Regions from separate parts of the Homo sapiens genome. Here regions 1, 2 and 3 are each linked to region 4. The links are contacts of gene promoters, found by promoter capture Hi-C in human tissues and cell types (Jung and others, 2019). All regions are on one chromosome and are shown on one strand. The core of a region is centred on a gene start or on the middle of the fragment in contact, and the rest is flanking DNA. Distances in the headings are between cores, read along the strand shown.

Region 1 (4,365 bases), core at 650-3,149, 390 kb after region 4:
TAATCCCAGCTACTCGGGAGGCTGAGGCAGGAGAATCGCTTAAACCCACAAGGCAGAGGTTGCAGTGAGCCAAGATCACGCCACTGCACTCCAGCCTGGGTGACAGAGCAAGACTCTGTCTCAAAACACAAACAAACAAAAACACAAAAAACTGGAGTCTCTGAGCCTACTCTGGCTCAGGAGGCTGCCAACAAAAAAAAAAAAAAGTGGGGGGTGGGAAAGGAAAAAATCATTTACTATCCCAACGTAATAAGATACTTTTCTATTTAGTTTTTTTCTAAAAGGCTTATAATTTGGACTTTCCCATTCACATCGTTAAATCTCCTGGCATTTTATTTTTATGTTTGAGGTGATATAGGGAAGATGCTTGTGATATCTATTATACTCAGTTATGGGCAATGTTTGTACTCTCTAAACTCACTCAGGTACTACACAAACAAAGCTTACTTCCTTCAATTCAATTGTGTAAGGTTTTATTTAGTATCTGTTGTGGGATTATCTAGAAGCAGGGTAGGCCCTGTATAAGGAAAAAAAATAAAATTATGGATTGCTAAAGTTTTGAATCATTAATTAGGAAGGTAATGTGAAGGGGACAATCACATATTTTCTGGCATCCTGATCTATCGTATTTACATAGAAAGAGAGGCGTATATAGGTTCTGGGGCTGATTTATTGTTTTCACATAGAAAGAGAGGCGCATATAGGTTCTGGGGCTGATTTATTGTTTTCACATAGAAAGAGATGCGTATATACGTTCTCTGGCTGATTTATTGTTTTCACAGAGAAAGAGAGGCATATATAGGTTCTCTGGCTGATTTATTGTTTTCACAGAGAAAGAGAGGCATATATAGGTTCTGGGGCTGATTTATTGTTTTCACAGAGAAAGAGAGGCGTATATAGGTTCTTTGGCTGATTTATCGTTTTCACATAGAGAGGTGTATATAGGTTCTGTGACTGATTTATTGTTCTCACATAGAAAGAGAGGCATATATAGGTTCTGTGGCTGATTTATTGTTCTCATATCGAAAGAGAGGCGTATATAGGTTCTCTGGCTGATTTATTGTTTTCACATAGAAAGAGAGGTGTGTATAGGTTCTGGGGCTGATTTATTGTTTTCACATAGAAAGAGAGGCGTATATAGGTTCTCTGGCTGATTTATTGTTTTCACATAGAAAGAGAGGCGTGTATAGGTTCTGGGGCTGATTTATTGTTTTCACATAGAAAGAGAGGCGTATATAGGTTCTGGGGCTGATTCATTGTTTTCACAGAGAAAGACAAGTGTATATAGGTTCTGGGGCTGATTTATTGTTTTCACATAGAGAGGCGTATAGAGGTTCTGGGGCTGATCTGTTTTCACAGAGAAAGACAGTTGTATATAGGTTCTGTGGGCCTTTGGGGGTTCCCATTCTCACTTCCTTTCTTATGAGTGTGGTGAGCATTGGGGTGTGGGGGTGAGTCTCAGGTTTTTGTTTACATTCAAATATGTTACTTTTCTTTTGCTGCAGAGATATGCTATGGTCCAGAAATTTTTCTTAAGATCCTTCAATGATCCTCTACTTTTTCACAAGTAGAGATGGGTGTTTCAGAACAAGTACGGTACTGTGTGGCTAGTTGCTTCTACCACTGCTGTGAGCATGGTCAAAATTAACCAGGCCATGCTTGGGTCACGTCAAACAATGGGCTTACCATAAGCCTCCCATCGTCACTCTTAAAAAACACTCCAAGCCGATAGCCCGTCATGTTTGAATTTGTAAAGGCAACTAACTTGGGAAGTTCTTTCTCATCCAATGTGAAAAATTCCTTTTCTTCTTAAATCACTATTGCGTATGTTTCAGCAGAGGTTTTTTTGTTGTTGTTGTTGTTGATAACCTATAAATACATACGGAGGCTTCTAAAAGGCCTTTGTGGTCCCTGGGGAGCCATACTCTTAATGCAACAAAAATAGCACTTAAAAAATACATACATATATATATATATAATTATTACATGTAAAAAATAGAAAAGGGAACAAAAATTAGTTGGCATGGTGGCATGCACCTGTAATCCCAGCTACTCAGGAGGCTGAAGCAGGAGAATTACTCGAACCTGGGAGGTGGAGGTTGCAGTGAGCCAAGATCGCACCATTGCACTCCAACCTGGGTGACAGAGCGAGACTGTCTCAAAAAATAAAATAAAAAATAAAAAAGGGAAAAAAAGGAACGTGTCCTCATGCCTCTTTCCAGTCAATTCCTGCTGCTCCCAGTACCCACCTCCTCAGCAAAAGGCAACCACTTTGCAGCTTGCACTTTTTTTTAAGGCAGAGTCTCTCTCTCAGTGGCAAGAACACAGCTTATTGCAGCCTCAACCTCGTGGGCTCAAGTGATCCACCTGCCTTGGCCTTCAGCTAGCTGCAGCTATCCTTCTTCAAAAGGACTCAATGGACCTCGGTTTGTGTATCCATACATGATGAGGAGGGATGAGATGGCCTGCAAAGATCCTGCTTTAGGAAGCTCTGATGCTCAAGGGGCCCACGTGGGCAAATAAATATAATGATGTGCATAAACCTAAACATATTTTTATAAATAACCAACCAATAGTTCATGGTGGGTAGCTCCAGTAAACAAAAAAGAAAAAAAGAAAAGAACCACGCAAGGGTACTGAGGGAGAGGCACCACAGACCAATAAATCCTTGCAAAAGAACAGCTGCTTTGGGCAGGCGCAGAGGCTCACGTCTGTAATCTCAGCAATTTGGGAGGCCAAGGTGGGCTGATCAGTTGAGCCTGGGACTTCAAGACCAGCCTGGGAAACATGGTAAAATCCTGTCTCTACAAAATATAAATTAGCAGGGTGGGTGTGATGGTGTGTGCCTGTAGTCCCAGCTATTCGGGAGGCTGAGGTGGGAGGATGGCTTGAGCCCAGATGTCGAGGCTCCCAAGTTCACGCCACTGCACTCCAGCCTGGGTGAGTGAGACCCTGTCTCAAAAAGAAAAAAGAAAAAAGAAAAGACACTTCTTTTTTTTTTTTTGAGACAGTCTCGCTCTGTTGCCCAGGCTGGAGTGCAGTAGCGCAATCTCGGCTTACTGCAAGCTCTGCCTCCCGGGTTCACACCATTCTCCTGCCTCAGCCTCCCGAGTAGCTGGGACTACAGGCGCCCGCCACCACACCCGGCTAATTTTTTGTATTTTTAGTAGAGACGGGGTTTCACTGTGTTAGCCAGGATGGTCTCGATCTCCTGACCTCGTGATCCACCTGTCTCGGCCTCCCAAAGTGCTGGGATGACAGGCGTGAGCCACCACACTCGGCAAAAGCCACTTTTTAATAAACTATAATGTAAAAGGATGGTTCATATAATATGCCGCTTAAGCAGTAAGTGCATTCTAGAGCATAGACAAGAAAAGTGAGCAAATAAGTGATTCTGGTGGGAGGTGAAGCAAATAATAAAATTAAGTTATATCAACATAAAAGCAGTATGATCTTGGTAACTAGAGTAGTTTTATGCTTGAAACTCAGCATCTATCATGCATGGTATAAGTTGGAAATCCAGAACACTTCTCATCTGACAATAGATTACCAGGATGTGCTTGGTCAACAGACTCATGACCAGATTCCTTTAAAAATAAAGACGGAACTTCCAGTGGAGACCGGAGTACTGTGAGCTCTTTGTACTGAAAAGACAGCTTCTCTCACTTGCTAGCTCTCCCTCTGCCCCACATACCAAAAATATCCTGAGAAAATTTTACCCAAGTAAATAGCTATTATGACTACAGTTAAAAAAAAAAAAAAAGAAAGTAAAAGGTATGTTTAAAGACACATTCATGCCTGGGCATGCTGTCTCACACCTGTCATCCCAGTGCTTTGGGAGGCCAAGGTGGGAGGATTGCTTGAGGCTCGGAGTTTGAAACAAGCCTGGGCAACAGAGCGAGACTCCATCGCCACAAAAAATTTAAAAATTCTCTGGGTGTGGTGGCTCACTCCTGTAATCCCACCACTTTGGGAGGCTGAGGCAAGAGGATTGCTTGAGCCCAGGAGTTCAAGACCAGCCTGGGCAAAATGGTGAAACCCCATATCTACTCTCTCTCTCTACTCTCTCTCTCTCTCTCTCTCTCTCTCTCTCAACATATATATATATAATGAAACACAGGCATGATGGCATGCACCTGTAGTCCCAGCTACTTGGGAGGTTGAGGTGGACCCAGGAGGTCAAGGCCGTAGTGAGCTGTGATCATGCCACTGCACTCCAGCCTGGATGACAGATCAAGACCATATCACAAATAAAAAAATTAAAAATTAGCTGGGTGTGGTGGCCCATGCCCTTATAGTCCCAGCTCCTGAGGAGGCTTAGGTGCGAGGATCCCTCGAGCCCAGGAGTTGAAGGCTGTAGTGAGC
Region 2 (4,182 bases), core at 1,284-3,783, 420 kb before region 4:
ATTCCAGCCTTAGATATTCTGATACACTCCTTATTTTTGAGGGCTGCAGAAAAGGTTAACATTCAGCTTCTGGAAAGTAATACTAAAATTCCTTCTGAATACTAAATATGCTCAAGTCCACTGTTGAACTATCTACCAAGATGAAGCCTGCTGGAGTTTCAAAATGTCCCCAGTGCTCTCAACCTCTGTGCGTCTCTCTCCACATCAAGAGTGAAGTCAGAGGTTATGTGAATAACCCACCCCACCCCCCAACAAAAGTGGACCAGGGCCAGACGCGGTGGCTCACACCTGTAATCCCAGCACTTTGGGTGGCTGAGGCAGGTGGATCACATGAGGTGAGGTCAGGAGTTCAAGATCAGCCTGACCAACATGGTGAAACCCCATTTCTACTAAAAATACAAAAATTAGCCAGGTGTGGTGGTGCACACCTGTAATCCCAGCTACTCCAGAGGCTGAGACATGAGAATCGCTTGAACCCAGGAGGCGGAGGTTGCCATGAGCCAAGACTGGGCCACTGCACTCCAACCCAGGGGACAGAGTGAGACTCTGACTCAAAAAAAAAAAAAAAAAGGTGGACTGGAAGCCACCTCTTCAGAAGAAAAAACATGATGAAAGCAAATACTTAATATCCAACAAAGTATGACAGCATGTTGCACTGCTCCCTCTAAAGAAGTAACTTCAAGTTCTCAGAATAAGCAGTATATATAAATTCTTTTTTTTTTTTTTTTGAGACGGAGTCTTGCTCTGTTACCCAGGCTAGAGTGTAGTGGTGCGATCTCGGCTCGCTGCAACCTCCACCTCCCAGGTTCAAGCGATTCTCCTGCCTCAGCCTCCCGAGTAGCTGGGACTACAGGCGTGCACCACCATGCCCAGCTAATTTTTGTATTTTTAATAGAGACGGGGTTTCACCATGTTGGCCAGGCTGGTCTCTATCTCTTGACCTTCTGATCCGCCCGCCTCAGCCTCCCAAAGTGCTGGGATCACAGGCGTGAGCCACCCTGCCCGGCCAGTATATGTACATTCTTAAGTAAAATACAGGCAAAAAGGATTTGTCCTTAAAAATGGTCACCGGCACTCAAAATGTACTGAGCATCTCTAAGGGTTCAAGTGCTGGGGACACTAGTGAATAAAGCTCTTGTAGTCTCTGCTGTCATGGAATCTACACATTTATGTGGTGACTGTTTAAAACACTTTTTGTCAATTCTTTGGAAATACAGGCCCCTTAGTTAAGAGCCACTTCTACAACCCCTACATCCTCTTAAAACTAAAAACAGCTTGACCCCACCTGGCCAGATGACTGAACTGTATTTGGCTCTAAATGACTTCTAGCTATCACCTAAAAGGAGTCTGTTCTTAGGGTCTTTTTGCAAATGTGCAAAATTATTAGGCCAATTGTAATTTTGCTGAAAAGGTAAGAACTCTGCAGGAGGGCTTGGGCAAAAATTCAGAAGATGAATTTTTATTACTGTGCAGAACCAGGCCCTAATGATTCAAAATCGACTTAAACCCAACTGCATGTTTTACAAACAAAATCCTGTTTAACCATCATTCACTCCATGAAGGCGAATGTTTCTCTGGCCCCTACCTGACTCCCTAGCATCAGTGCCTGGCACAAAGCAAGAGGCACAGTAAATAGTTCCTACTTGAAACAGTTTTCCCAACACCTCTGCTCTCCTCTGCCTGTCAGAATCTGAGTCTTAAAGGCACTGATATGGCTGCACTTTTGGTTATACCTTTGCAGGTCTGTCTAGGAAAGAGACAATATAGACAGGCTCTGGCAGGTATGGGAATATGTTGGTTGAGAGAAAGGCAAGGAATTAGGGGAAGGGAACTGGAAAAGACGCTCACATCTGGTATTGTGAGAACTCTGGGCCCACGAGGCTTCTTGTTTTTGGGGTATTTTTTTTCCTGGATTTCTTGGAAATGAAAATGTGGATTTCGAAAACTTGATTTTCCTCATAGTTTGCATTATACTTAATTTTTAAATTAAATGTTAATTAAACAAATAATACAAGAAAATATTCTCCTTGTAAAAAAAAAAACGCAAAATGAGGCCAAATCCTCTTTAACTATTAGTCCTGCTTTTCTACACTTACCCAAAGGTAATAATCATTGATATAAAAAATGGTAAGGTCCCACCTTTTTACTTACAAATATGTATGTATATATGTGTCTACACATACACCTGCATGTATTTGTGTACTATACCGTATCATTCCACAATTGGCTTTTTAAAGCTCTATGCCTTGGACATCTTTCCATTTGAGGACTTGAAGGTCTACTATATTCAATTTAACTACTATGGTCAGTTTAATAGTATGGGTATACCGTACCATAGTGTATTTAGCTATTCTCTTGCTAGAGCTAAATTTGGGTTGTTTTATTTTGCACTATTATAAATAATGCTGCCATGAACATCCTCGCACATGCCTCATTCTTGTGTGCATATACAAGCATTTTTATGCAGTAGATAACAAGAAATGGAACTGATATGCAACAGAATTTGTATCTTTTTAATTTACAAAGCACTTAGAACTGATGAGAACTGCAACTATCCCCAAGCGGCTGTATCAATTTATACACTCTAACCAGAAAATATGAGAATGCCTATTTCCTTACACTTACATAGACACTTGAATAGCATCACTTTTTCTAACATAATGGGCAAAAAATTTAACTGATGTAGTTTTCATTTGCATTTCTATAATTTCTGGTAAGGCTGAACACCTCTCTGTGTTTTTAAATGGTCATTTGCATTTTTCCTAAAATTTACTAAATTAGCCTTTGTCCATTTCTATTATGTCCTTTTATCCTCCCCTTATTCATTTGTAGGAGTTTTCCATGTATTCTGGATAGTTATTGTCTGTTATTTGCATCATACATATTTTCTCCAAGTCTGTTGCTTGTCCTTTAACTTTATGATATACAGAAGTTTTAAATTATTAGGTGGTTAAATTTATCCAATTGTTCCTTATGTCTTTTCTTTGGTTCCATGTTAAGAAGTCCTTCCCCACTCTGTGAACATAACATTTTCCATATTTCATTCAAATACTTTTACAGTTTTGTACAGATTTCTTTTAAGTACTTAAAGCTTTAGGAGTTTTCATAATAAAGAATTTCCACATTTCTTCCTAGGGCATATTCCTGGGTTATTTATGTTTTGTTTCTTTTATAAATGGAATCTTATTCCCAGTTACATTTTCTTACTGGTTCTTGGTAGTGCAGGAAAATCCGGAAACCTACTCATTTTTCTTGATTTTGTATCCCACCATCTGTTTATTAGCTGAACACTAATATTTTGTCAATTGATTCCATTAGGTTATAGTTTATTCTACAGGAGTTATTTTGCAGATACAGGCCAATTTTAGCTCTAAGATGATCAAAGAAAAACAATTTCTAACCACATTCAAGATGTAGTTTTAAGGGAAAAGCAGAGAAAATCCAAGTGGAGTATCTCAGAGGGGGATCTGGATCCTAGACAGATCCTCTCCTCAGCCAGAGATTCCTCTTCTAGTCCTTTTCTCAGCTAACACTTTGGAGGATTTTCATGACATAAACTGTTCCTATATGGTTTTGACTGCTGCTGTTCTATCTAGAGCTAAGATGCTATTTGGCCAATTACAAAATAAATGAAAAAATAGGCAGTATATTAACTTACCTCTACACAAAACTTAAAATGAATGCCTTGGGAATCATAAAATGAAATAATTCGATTAGAGAGTGTCACAGTAATGAGAGACCAGTGGACTTCCAGGTGAATAGGAATCAACAGAAGACTCTTTTTAAACAAATCCACCTGATCAAGAAAAGAGAAAGAAATGCAGCCATCACCACAGGCTATCCAAACCACCAAAAACCAGCAGCTTCCATTTGCTGACCTTTGACCTGCACAAGGGCAAAAAAGTAGGAAGCAATGAACCAGAATTTGAACCCAGGTCTTACTCTAAGCCCATGCTTGTAACTATTAAGCTATAATACACAACAATAATACAAAAATAAAGATATACAAAGTACAGTTTTCCAGTTAATCTACTAAACCTGTGTGTCAAGTGCCTGAAGACTTGGCTCCTTGTTTACCTCATTTTCTCATATACATATTTAACCTGGATTCAACTCTTGTTTAGAAAGGAATCATAGTATTAGAAAATGGTATAAGGGGCCAGGCACGGTGGCTCACACCTG
Region 3 (4,019 bases), core at 238-2,737, 360 kb before region 4:
CATGGTGAAACCCCATGTCTACTAAAAATACAAAAATTAGCCGGGCGCGATGGCGGGCACCTGTAATCCCAGCTACTCTGGAGGCTGAGGCAGGAGAATCGCTTGAACCTGGGAGGAGGAGGTTGCAGTGAGCTGAAAAGATCGCGCCACTGCACTCCAGGCTGGGTGTCAGAGTGAGACCCTGTCCCCCCTCCAAAAAAAAATTGTGAGCCCAGGTGTAAATGAAGCCCCCCTCCCCAGCACCCTCCTCTACATACCAAGCTTTTCTCCTAGAAAAGATGCACTGGGAAAAAGCTATCTTGAGTAAAGATCAAAACTGATATAAGCCATCCCTCATATACCAATAATATGCCATCAATAAGCGTGAGACATGTGGATGGCTAGGAGAGAGTCTGGTTTCTTCCTGATGCTGCCCACCCAAAACAGAGACTGCAGTTAGGCTCTGACCACACGAGCGCCTGGCATCTCTAGGCAACCTTTTCCATACCAAGCTTAGTTATTCCGGGCAAAATGCAAAAAAAAAACATAAGTAGGAACCTATCATGAAGTGTCCTGGATATTCTTAAATTAAATTTAACCAGATTCTCAAAACATTTCATAACTAACGTCTGCTTTCTTCATTTAATTCTCCAAACATTATAATTTACATTGGTAGAAGAAAGTCCCACTTTACCTGCGGTGAAAAAGGTCGAAATGTCTATCTAGCATGAGATGAAAAACACTACCAGAGAGCAGGGTAGGATTTCACCTCGGCTATTCTCGCTCTAAGTCCAAAACTCCCACATCCTCTCCGCATCCCTCCACCCCGACAGAGTGGCCACAGGGCGTAGAGCGGAGGCTGATACCGCTCAGAGCAGACCGAAGGGAAAAGACGTCTCCCACCGCGCTCATGCCCAACCGGGCTCTCTGGAAAAGGGTCCCGGGGAGCGCGAGGAAAGAAACGAAGGCCGGAAGGAGGCAGAGCGGTCTAAGCAAATAAAAACCCCGGACTTCCACGGCGGCCGGAGCTGGAGGCCTGTGACAGCGGCTCCTCCTCTCAGAGCTTTCCCGGCTTCAGGAGGAGCTGGGGGGCGCCAGCTTCCCGGTGCCTGCGACGCACAGCCCGGCTGGAGCGAGAGCGCAGGGCAGCGGCCCCTCGGGACGAGCTCGCTCGCCTCCCCCGGAAAGGGAGGCTGTGGCCGAGACGGACGGCGGCCTCCAGCTCGGGCGGGGGAGGGCGGCTCGAGGCCTCCGGACCGGGCGCTGAGGTGGCGCACCGGCGCGGGAATGGCCCCAGCCAGCCCCGCCAGGCGATCGCTGAGTCCGTCACTCGTCTGCCCGCGTCCCCGCTTACCTGCTACCCTCGTTCCTGGCAGCTGCCCCGCCGCCGGCCCCGTCGCGGCAGCAGCCTGGACCGCGGACCCCGCCTTCGTCAGCTCCAAGGGAAGCCCCGCCAGCGACGAGGCGTCCGGCCTGTTCGCCGCGGCCACAGCCGCCGAGCTTCCTCTGAAGCGGCTGCCGCGACGCCGGCGCTGGCCTATCGCGTCACCTCCTCCGCGCCCTTCCGCCTGCGAGGCTGGGCCTGGCACCGCCCGCTTCCGGCGCTCCCGCCCCGCCTCCCGACCCGGGGCCGCCCCGCCCCCGCCCGTCACCGCGTCCTTAGCCCCGGCCTCCCTCAGAACGCGCTGGGATGGGAACCGCGTTCAGGAGCTGCTAAGCGCGTTTGAGACTTCAGCCCCTTCTCCAGCTTTTAACCTAAAAGGGCTAAATCAGACCGCAGCTAGTGTACACCCCTACCCTCCGCTGATCCCGTCACCCCTGCGCCGAAAGCAAAAGACCCATTCCAGCTCTGGACGTTGTGAGGCCTGGCCCAGGCGTCCGCTCTCTGGTTTTCCTATTGATCTTACCCCTGGTATTGTGATTGGCCTCTTTATCTATGTCTTACCCGCCCCAACTGTGAATGCTTTCCAAAATTATAAGCCGATGTCCTGACAGGCAAAAACATAATAATAGCAGATTTATGGCGGAAGATGAGTTCAGTTTTGAACATACTCGATCTGGAAGAATAAAGTGGAGGTGACTGCAATGGAAAACCAACAGTGCGTTGCTGAGAGCCTGTGTAGGCAGTAAGGATATGCATTGATGGTGGAGAAGATAAAAACAATACCGAAGCCAACTGCAGGATGGTTTGCTTTTAATTATCATCATGTGTCAGAAAATTCTAAACAATGTTAATGAAAAAGTACTCCTTTCCAAACAAAAGCTTTGTTTAGTCTTAGTTCTAAGCAATGGCTGCAATTACTGTTGATTTTTTTTTCTTTTTTCTTTTCTTTTTTTTTTTTTTCCAAACAGGGTCTTGCTGTCTCGCCCAAGCCGGAGTGCCGTGGCACACCCTAGGCTCGCTGTAACCTCTGCCTCCTGGGCTCAAGCGATCCTCCCACCTCATCTTCCAGGGTACCTGCGACCACAGGCTCCTGCACCACGCCCGGCTAATTTTTTATTACTATTACTATCATTATTTTTGTAGCGATGACATCTCCCTATGTTGCCCAGGCTGGTCTTGAACCCCTGAGCTCAAGTGATCCTCCCACCTGGGCCTCCCACAGTGCTCGAATTACAGGCGTGAACCACCACACCAGGCCCTCTCACTTCTTTTTAACAGTTTCTCTTTGTCAGTGATTTTTTTTTTTTTTTTAGAGGAGTGTCGCTCTGTCGCCCAGGCTGCAGTGCAGTGGCGCCATCTCGGCTCACTGCAAGCTCTGCCTCCCGGGTTCACGCCATTCTCCTGCCTCAGCCTCCTGAGTAGCTGGGACTACAGGCGTCCACCACCACGCTTGGCTAATTTTTTTTGTATTTCTTTAGTAGAGACCGGGTTTCACCAAGTTAGCCAGGATAATCTCGATCTCCTGACCTCGTGATCTGCCCGCCTCAGCCCCCCAAAGTGCTGGGATTACAGGCGTGAGCCACCGCACCCAGCCTGTTAGTGATTTTTAGCCATTTATTTTGTGCCCTATCTTTGTTTTCTTTGTATTTATCTGTCTTGGATATCATTGAGTTTCTCTGATTTGTGGGTAGATGTCTTGCATCAGTTTTGAGAAATTCTCAATCATTATCTCTTCAGATATGGTTTTTGCTGCATTCTCTATGCCTGTTCTCCGAGACACCAATTACATATGTAAGATTATTATTATTATTATTGAGACAGAGTTTCACTCTTTTTGCTCAAGCTGGAGTGCAGTGGCGCAATCTCGTCTCACTGCAACCTCTGCCTCTGCCTCCCGGGTTCAAGCGATAATCCTGCCTCAGCAGTATTATCTACTGAGGTAGATAATACTATTATAATAGTATTATTATCGAGTAGCCAGAATTACAAGCGCCCACCACCACGCCCGGCTAATTTTTGTATTTTTAGTAGAGATAGGGTTTCACCATGTTGGTCAGGCCGGTCTTCAACTCCTGACCTCCGGTGATCCACCTGCCTCAGCCTCCCAAAGTGCTGGGATTACAGGCATGAGCCACGGCACCCAGCCCATATGTAAGATTATTTGATCTTGTTCACCGTGTCTTTTACACTTTGTGATGTCAATTTTTTTTTCAATTATTCAGTTTGAAGGTTTTCTGTTTTTCAGGTTATTGAGTCTATCTTCTATAATCTCCAATCTGCTGTTAAATCTATACATTGAGTTCTTAATTTTAAATATTAGATTTTCAGGTTTTGTTTTTTTTTGTTGTTGTTGTTTGTTTTTTTTTTTTGAGGCCAAGCTTCGCCCTTGTTGCCCAGGCTGGAGTACAATGGCGCAATCTCGGCTCACTGCAACCTCTGCCTCCCAGGTTCAAGTGATTCTGCCTCAGCCTCCCAAGTAGCTGGTATTACAGGTGACCGCCACCACACCCAGCTAATTTTTGTATTTTTAGAAGAGATAGAGTTTCACCATGTTGGCCAGGCTGGTCTCAAACCCCTGACCTCGTGATCCACCCATCTCAGCCTTCCAAAGTGCTGGGATTACAGGCGTGAGCCACTGCATCTGGCCTGTTGTTAC
Region 4 (4,177 bases), core at 591-3,090:
CCAAAGTGCTGGGATTACAGGCATGAGCCACCGTGCCTGGCCCAACTGCATTAAATTGGTGTTTGAAGTAGGCACAGCCACAAAGCAACCCATTTAGGATGAACCGAGAAAGCAATGTCATGAAAGCAAAACGTTTGGATGACAGAGAATAAATCATAGTTGCATGTTTAAAAGAATAATGGGAGATTCGATGGGAAAAGCAGGTTGTGGACATATTAGGAAGCCTGAAGGCCAGGTGCAGTGGCTCACGCCTGTAATCCCAGCACTTTGGAAGGCCAAGGCCGGTGGATCACCTGAGGTCAGGAGTTCGAGACCAGCATGGCCAACATGGTGAAACCCCATCTCTACTAAGAATACAAAAATTTGCCAGGCGTGGTATTACAATGCACGTGGTATTACAAGGCACGCGCCTGTAATTGCAGCTACTCGGGAGGCTGAGGCATGAGAATCGCTTGAACCCAGGAGGTGGAGGTTGCAGTAAGCTGAGATCAAACCACTGCACTCCAACCTGGGCAACAGAATGAGGAGCCATCTCAAAAAAACAAACAAACGAACAAAAAACAAGCCTGAAATTCCAAGCTAAGGTACTGTTACTGTAGACAACCAGATGACAGTCCCAGGTTTCTTTTTTTTTTCTTTTTTTTGAGACAGGGTCTTGCCCTGTCACCCAGGCTGGGGTGCAGTGGTACGATCACTGTTCACTGCAGCCTTGACCTCCTGGGCTCAAGTGATCCTCCCACCTCAGCCACCAGAGTAGCTGAGAGTATAAGTGTGAGCCAGCACACCGAGTTAATTTTTTTATTTTTTGTAGAGACAGGGTCTCACTATGTTGCCCAGGCTGGACCTGAACTCCTGGGCTCCACTGATCTTCCCGCCTTGGCCTTCCAAAGTGCTGGGACTACAGGTGTGAGCTATCACAGACAATAACAGGTTTCTGAACCCACATTGAAATGAAAGTTCCCAAAGACTTCTACCAACGACCGATGTCTCCTCGTTGTTCTCAACCTGGAAACCATCCCCTACCCAGCCTGAATGCTCTCAGCAGCCTCAAAACAACTTAAAGGCTGCTTTCACGCACAGTGATTTTCTTTTCTCTTCCTTCACACTGATTGATTCCCTCAAAAAATGCAGGTCCGGAGCTGGCTATGGAGTTGCAAGCTCTAGACCCAGCTACTCCAGAGGCTGAGGCGAAAGAATCCCTGGAACCCTGGAGTTGTAGTCCAGCCTGGATAAAACAGTGAGACCCCAATTCTTTTATCTATTTATTTATTTGTATTTTTTGAGGTGGAATTTTGCTCTGTCCCCCAGGCTGGAGTGCAGTGGCACAATCTCGGCTCACTGCAGCCTCTGCCTCCCAGGTTTAGCGATTCTCCTGTCTCAGCCTCCTGAGTAGCTGGAATTGCAGGAGCTTGTCACAATGCCCAGCTAATTTTTGTATTTTTAGTAAGGACGGGGGTTTCACCATGTTGGCCAGGCTGGTCTTGAACTCCTGACCTCAGGTGATCCGCCCGCCTCGGCCTCCCGAAGTGCTGGGATTACAGGCGTGAGCCACCGCACCCGGCCTTGTTTGGCTGTTGATTTTGTTTTGAGGTTTCCCTTTTTCTACCCAGAAACCAAGAAACCAGGGGTGTCTGAGGCCTCGCAGAAATCTCAGGGAAAGGTCAGGCTCCACCCAGGCTGCACTAGGCGGGGCTGCGACGCCAGGGCGGGACCGTCTCCGGCTGGGAGGGAGGGCGGGCGGCGCGCAGACCCCGGAAGTCCCGCCCCGGGAACGTTCGCCCTTGGGCAGTTTTCTGGGTGGGAAGTGCGATTTTGGCGGGCGGTTGTGACGTTGCTAGCGCTTGTCCGGTGGCTGCTGCGCTGCCGCAACGAATAGGGTTTCTGGCTGCGTAGGAGGGACGGGGGCGCGGAGCTCTGGGAAACTGCGCCAGGCGCCCGAAAGGTGAACACGGGAGTCGCGCGTCTCCCCCGCAGCAGCGGTAAAGCGGAAGTTATGCTGCAGCCGGAGCCCGGGCTTCCTCCCGGAGCCGCGTCCCGGGGCCCGGCTGCCCCGAGCTGAGCGGAGCATCCTTTCCGGGTGAGGGGAGGAGAGGACTTGGCGCGTTCCCCTCGCTGCCCCGGGAGCCGCAGCCGCGGTGTTCATGCCGCGGAGCAGCCAGGCTCCTCCGACGAAAACCTGCATTTATTTGCTGGCGGGACGTTTGCCTTGAAAATGGACAAAGACGCCGCCCTCCGGGGTATTCCTGTTTGCCTGACCCTGAGAGCGCCTTTTTGCTTCAAGACGTGTTGGATGCTCCTGTTCTCCGAATTCTGATACGCTTCTGGGCATAATACTGAAACACAAAACTGCTTTTGCTCTCTCTGTGGTTGGCCGAAAATAGGATTCTTTTTCGTGCAGGTGTCGTTGTTTAGTCGGCTTTACTAACATATTGAAATGGCTCTACCCAAAGACGCCATCCCCTCGCTGTCCGAGTGCCAGTGCGGGATCTGCATGGAAATCCTCGTGGAGCCCGTCACCCTCCCGTGTAACCACACGCTGTGTAAACCGTGCTTCCAGTCGACCGTCGAAAAGGCGAGTTTATGCTGTCCCTTCTGTCGCCGCCGGGTATCGTCGTGGACTCGGTACCATACCCGAAGAAATTCTCTCGTCAACGTGGAACTGTGGACGATAATTCAAAAACACTATCCCAGGGAGTGCAAGCTTAGAGCGTCTGGCCAAGAATCAGAGGAAGTGGGTGAGTAAACCATGGCGTGTTTGTTGGCCAAAAGCCGCAAGTCTTTGAAAAGGTGAATCATCACTTTTCCATTTAAAAAGTAAAAACAAACCAAAAAACCCGACTAGTATTTGTCTAAATAGTTCTCAGAGGTTAGGGGGTTTATGGGTCCCCAAATGTCGATGGATTATAAAGTCAAGGGCAAGATTTTGTCCATTGTCAAAATGCCCGCGCTGTGTTCGATGGGTGTTTGTTGTGTTAAAAATTAAAGAATTGCCCGTCTGGAGCCTTCTTTTTTTTTTTTTTGAGACAGGATCTCGCTCCGTCCTCCAGGCTGGAGTGCAGTGGCGCGATCTCGGCTCCCTGCAACCTCCGCCTCCCGGTTTCAAGCGATTCTCCTGCCTCAGCCTCCCGAGTAGCTGGGGTTACACGCGTGCACCATCACGCCCGGGGAATTTTTCTGTTTTTTAGTAGAGACGGGATTTCACCATGTTGGCCAGGCTGATCTCAAACTCCTGACCTCAAGGGATCCGCCCGCCTCGGCCTGCCAAAATGCTGGGATTACAGGCTTGAGCCACCGCGCCCGGCCTCTGATTTACTTATCTATACATCTCCATTCATTTAATTCTTGATTCTCCTAATCATGCGACGAGGCTAAAGTCGCTTTTTTATCACTCAACCCTGCACCCGGTAGACTCAGGAGCCCCAAACTGAACCCTTGACTCTTTCCTCCACTAATGTGAGCAATAAGCCGGGCGGTGGTTCCTGTCTGGGCTTAGGATATGGTGTCTCCGTTCTCTCGTGGACAGGTCTTTTTTTTTTTTTTTTTTTTTTTTTTTCTAATTTTTTTTGGTCACAGTTATATGTGTACCTGCCTTTTAAACATACGTTTATTTTATTGTAAAAAAATGCCATTTTAAACATTTTTAAACAATAGTTAAAAGAAAAAGCTTTATTCAAATGCTCGCAGACCATACAATTCACCTACTAAAAGTGTGCGGTTGGCCGGGAGCGATGGCTCACAGCTGTAATCCCAGCGCTTTGGGAGGCGGAGGTGGGAGGATCTCTTGAACCCAGGAGTTGAGGCCGGTCTGGGTAACATAAATTCAGTAAAATGTTTAAAAGTGTGCAATTTAATGGTTTTTGGTATATTGCGTTATTTTTAAAATATTGTCCAAAATGTATATAACAAACTGACATTTTAACCATTTTTAAGTACAATTCAATAGCATTAATTACATTCACAATGTAACCATCACCACTGTTTCCAGAACTTTTCATCACCCCAGATAAACTCTAACCGTGAGGCACTGACTCCCCATTTCACCTTTCCCCCCAGCCTCGGCACCTTCTATTCCACTTTCTGTCTCTATGAATCTGGCCATTCTAGGTATTTCATAGAAGGGACTCATGCAATATAGGATCTTGTGTGTCTAGCTTATTTCACTTAGCGTGTTTCTGAG

The links. The method cuts DNA at HindIII sites, captures the fragments that hold promoters and counts their contacts. A contact is called where the count stands out against the background at its distance.
Region 1: a fragment that was not itself captured here is called in contact with the fragment with the promoter of RNF168 in region 4 in 2 of the 25 tissues and cell types used here (lymphoblastoid cells and thymus).
Region 2: a contact is called between a fragment that was not itself captured here and the fragment with the promoter of RNF168 in region 4, in 1 of the 25 tissues and cell types used here (IMR-90 fibroblasts).
Region 3: a contact is called between the fragment with the promoter of SENP5 here and the fragment with the promoter of RNF168 in region 4, in 1 of the 25 tissues and cell types used here (dorsolateral prefrontal cortex).

Annotation. Positions count from the first base shown.
Region 1 is chr3:196,112,993-196,117,357 of GRCh38, reverse strand. No RefSeq gene overlaps it. Among named protein-coding and RNA genes, the nearest start is that of LINC00885, 27 kb to the left of the region's middle. RefSeq lists a silencer at 3,866-3,983. The HindIII fragment of the contact is 5,653 bases long and covers 1-4,365 here.
Region 2 is chr3:196,923,028-196,927,209 of GRCh38, reverse strand. SENP5 (SUMO specific peptidase 5) reads right to left here. Exons shown (of 10, transcript NM_152699.5): 7 at 3,659-3,796. Among named protein-coding and RNA genes, the nearest start is that of NCBP2-AS1, 15 kb to the left of the region's middle. The HindIII fragment of the contact is 3,504 bases long and covers 782-4,182 here.
Region 3 is chr3:196,865,388-196,869,406 of GRCh38, reverse strand. It overlaps SENP5 (SUMO specific peptidase 5), which reads right to left and starts at 1,487. Exons shown (of 10, transcript NM_152699.5): 1 at 1,334-1,487. RefSeq lists an enhancer at 1-479 and a silencer at 1,131-1,710. The HindIII fragment of the contact is 4,194 bases long and covers 1-2,992 here.
Region 4 is chr3:196,501,431-196,505,607 of GRCh38, reverse strand. RNF168 (ring finger protein 168) reads left to right here and starts at 1,840. Exons shown (of 6, transcript NM_152617.4): 1 at 1,840-2,735. The coding sequence starts at 2,435. LOC105374306 (a long non-coding RNA gene) reads left to right here and starts at 3,556. Exons shown (of 2, transcript XR_924896.3): 1 at 3,556-4,177. LOC105374307 (a long non-coding RNA gene) reads right to left here and starts at 256. Exons shown (of 3, transcript XR_924897.3): 1 at 1-256. RefSeq lists a silencer at 1,591-1,890 and enhancers at 2,511-2,600, 2,641-2,710, 2,362-3,045, 3,046-3,730. The HindIII fragment of the contact is 9,103 bases long and covers 1-3,183 here.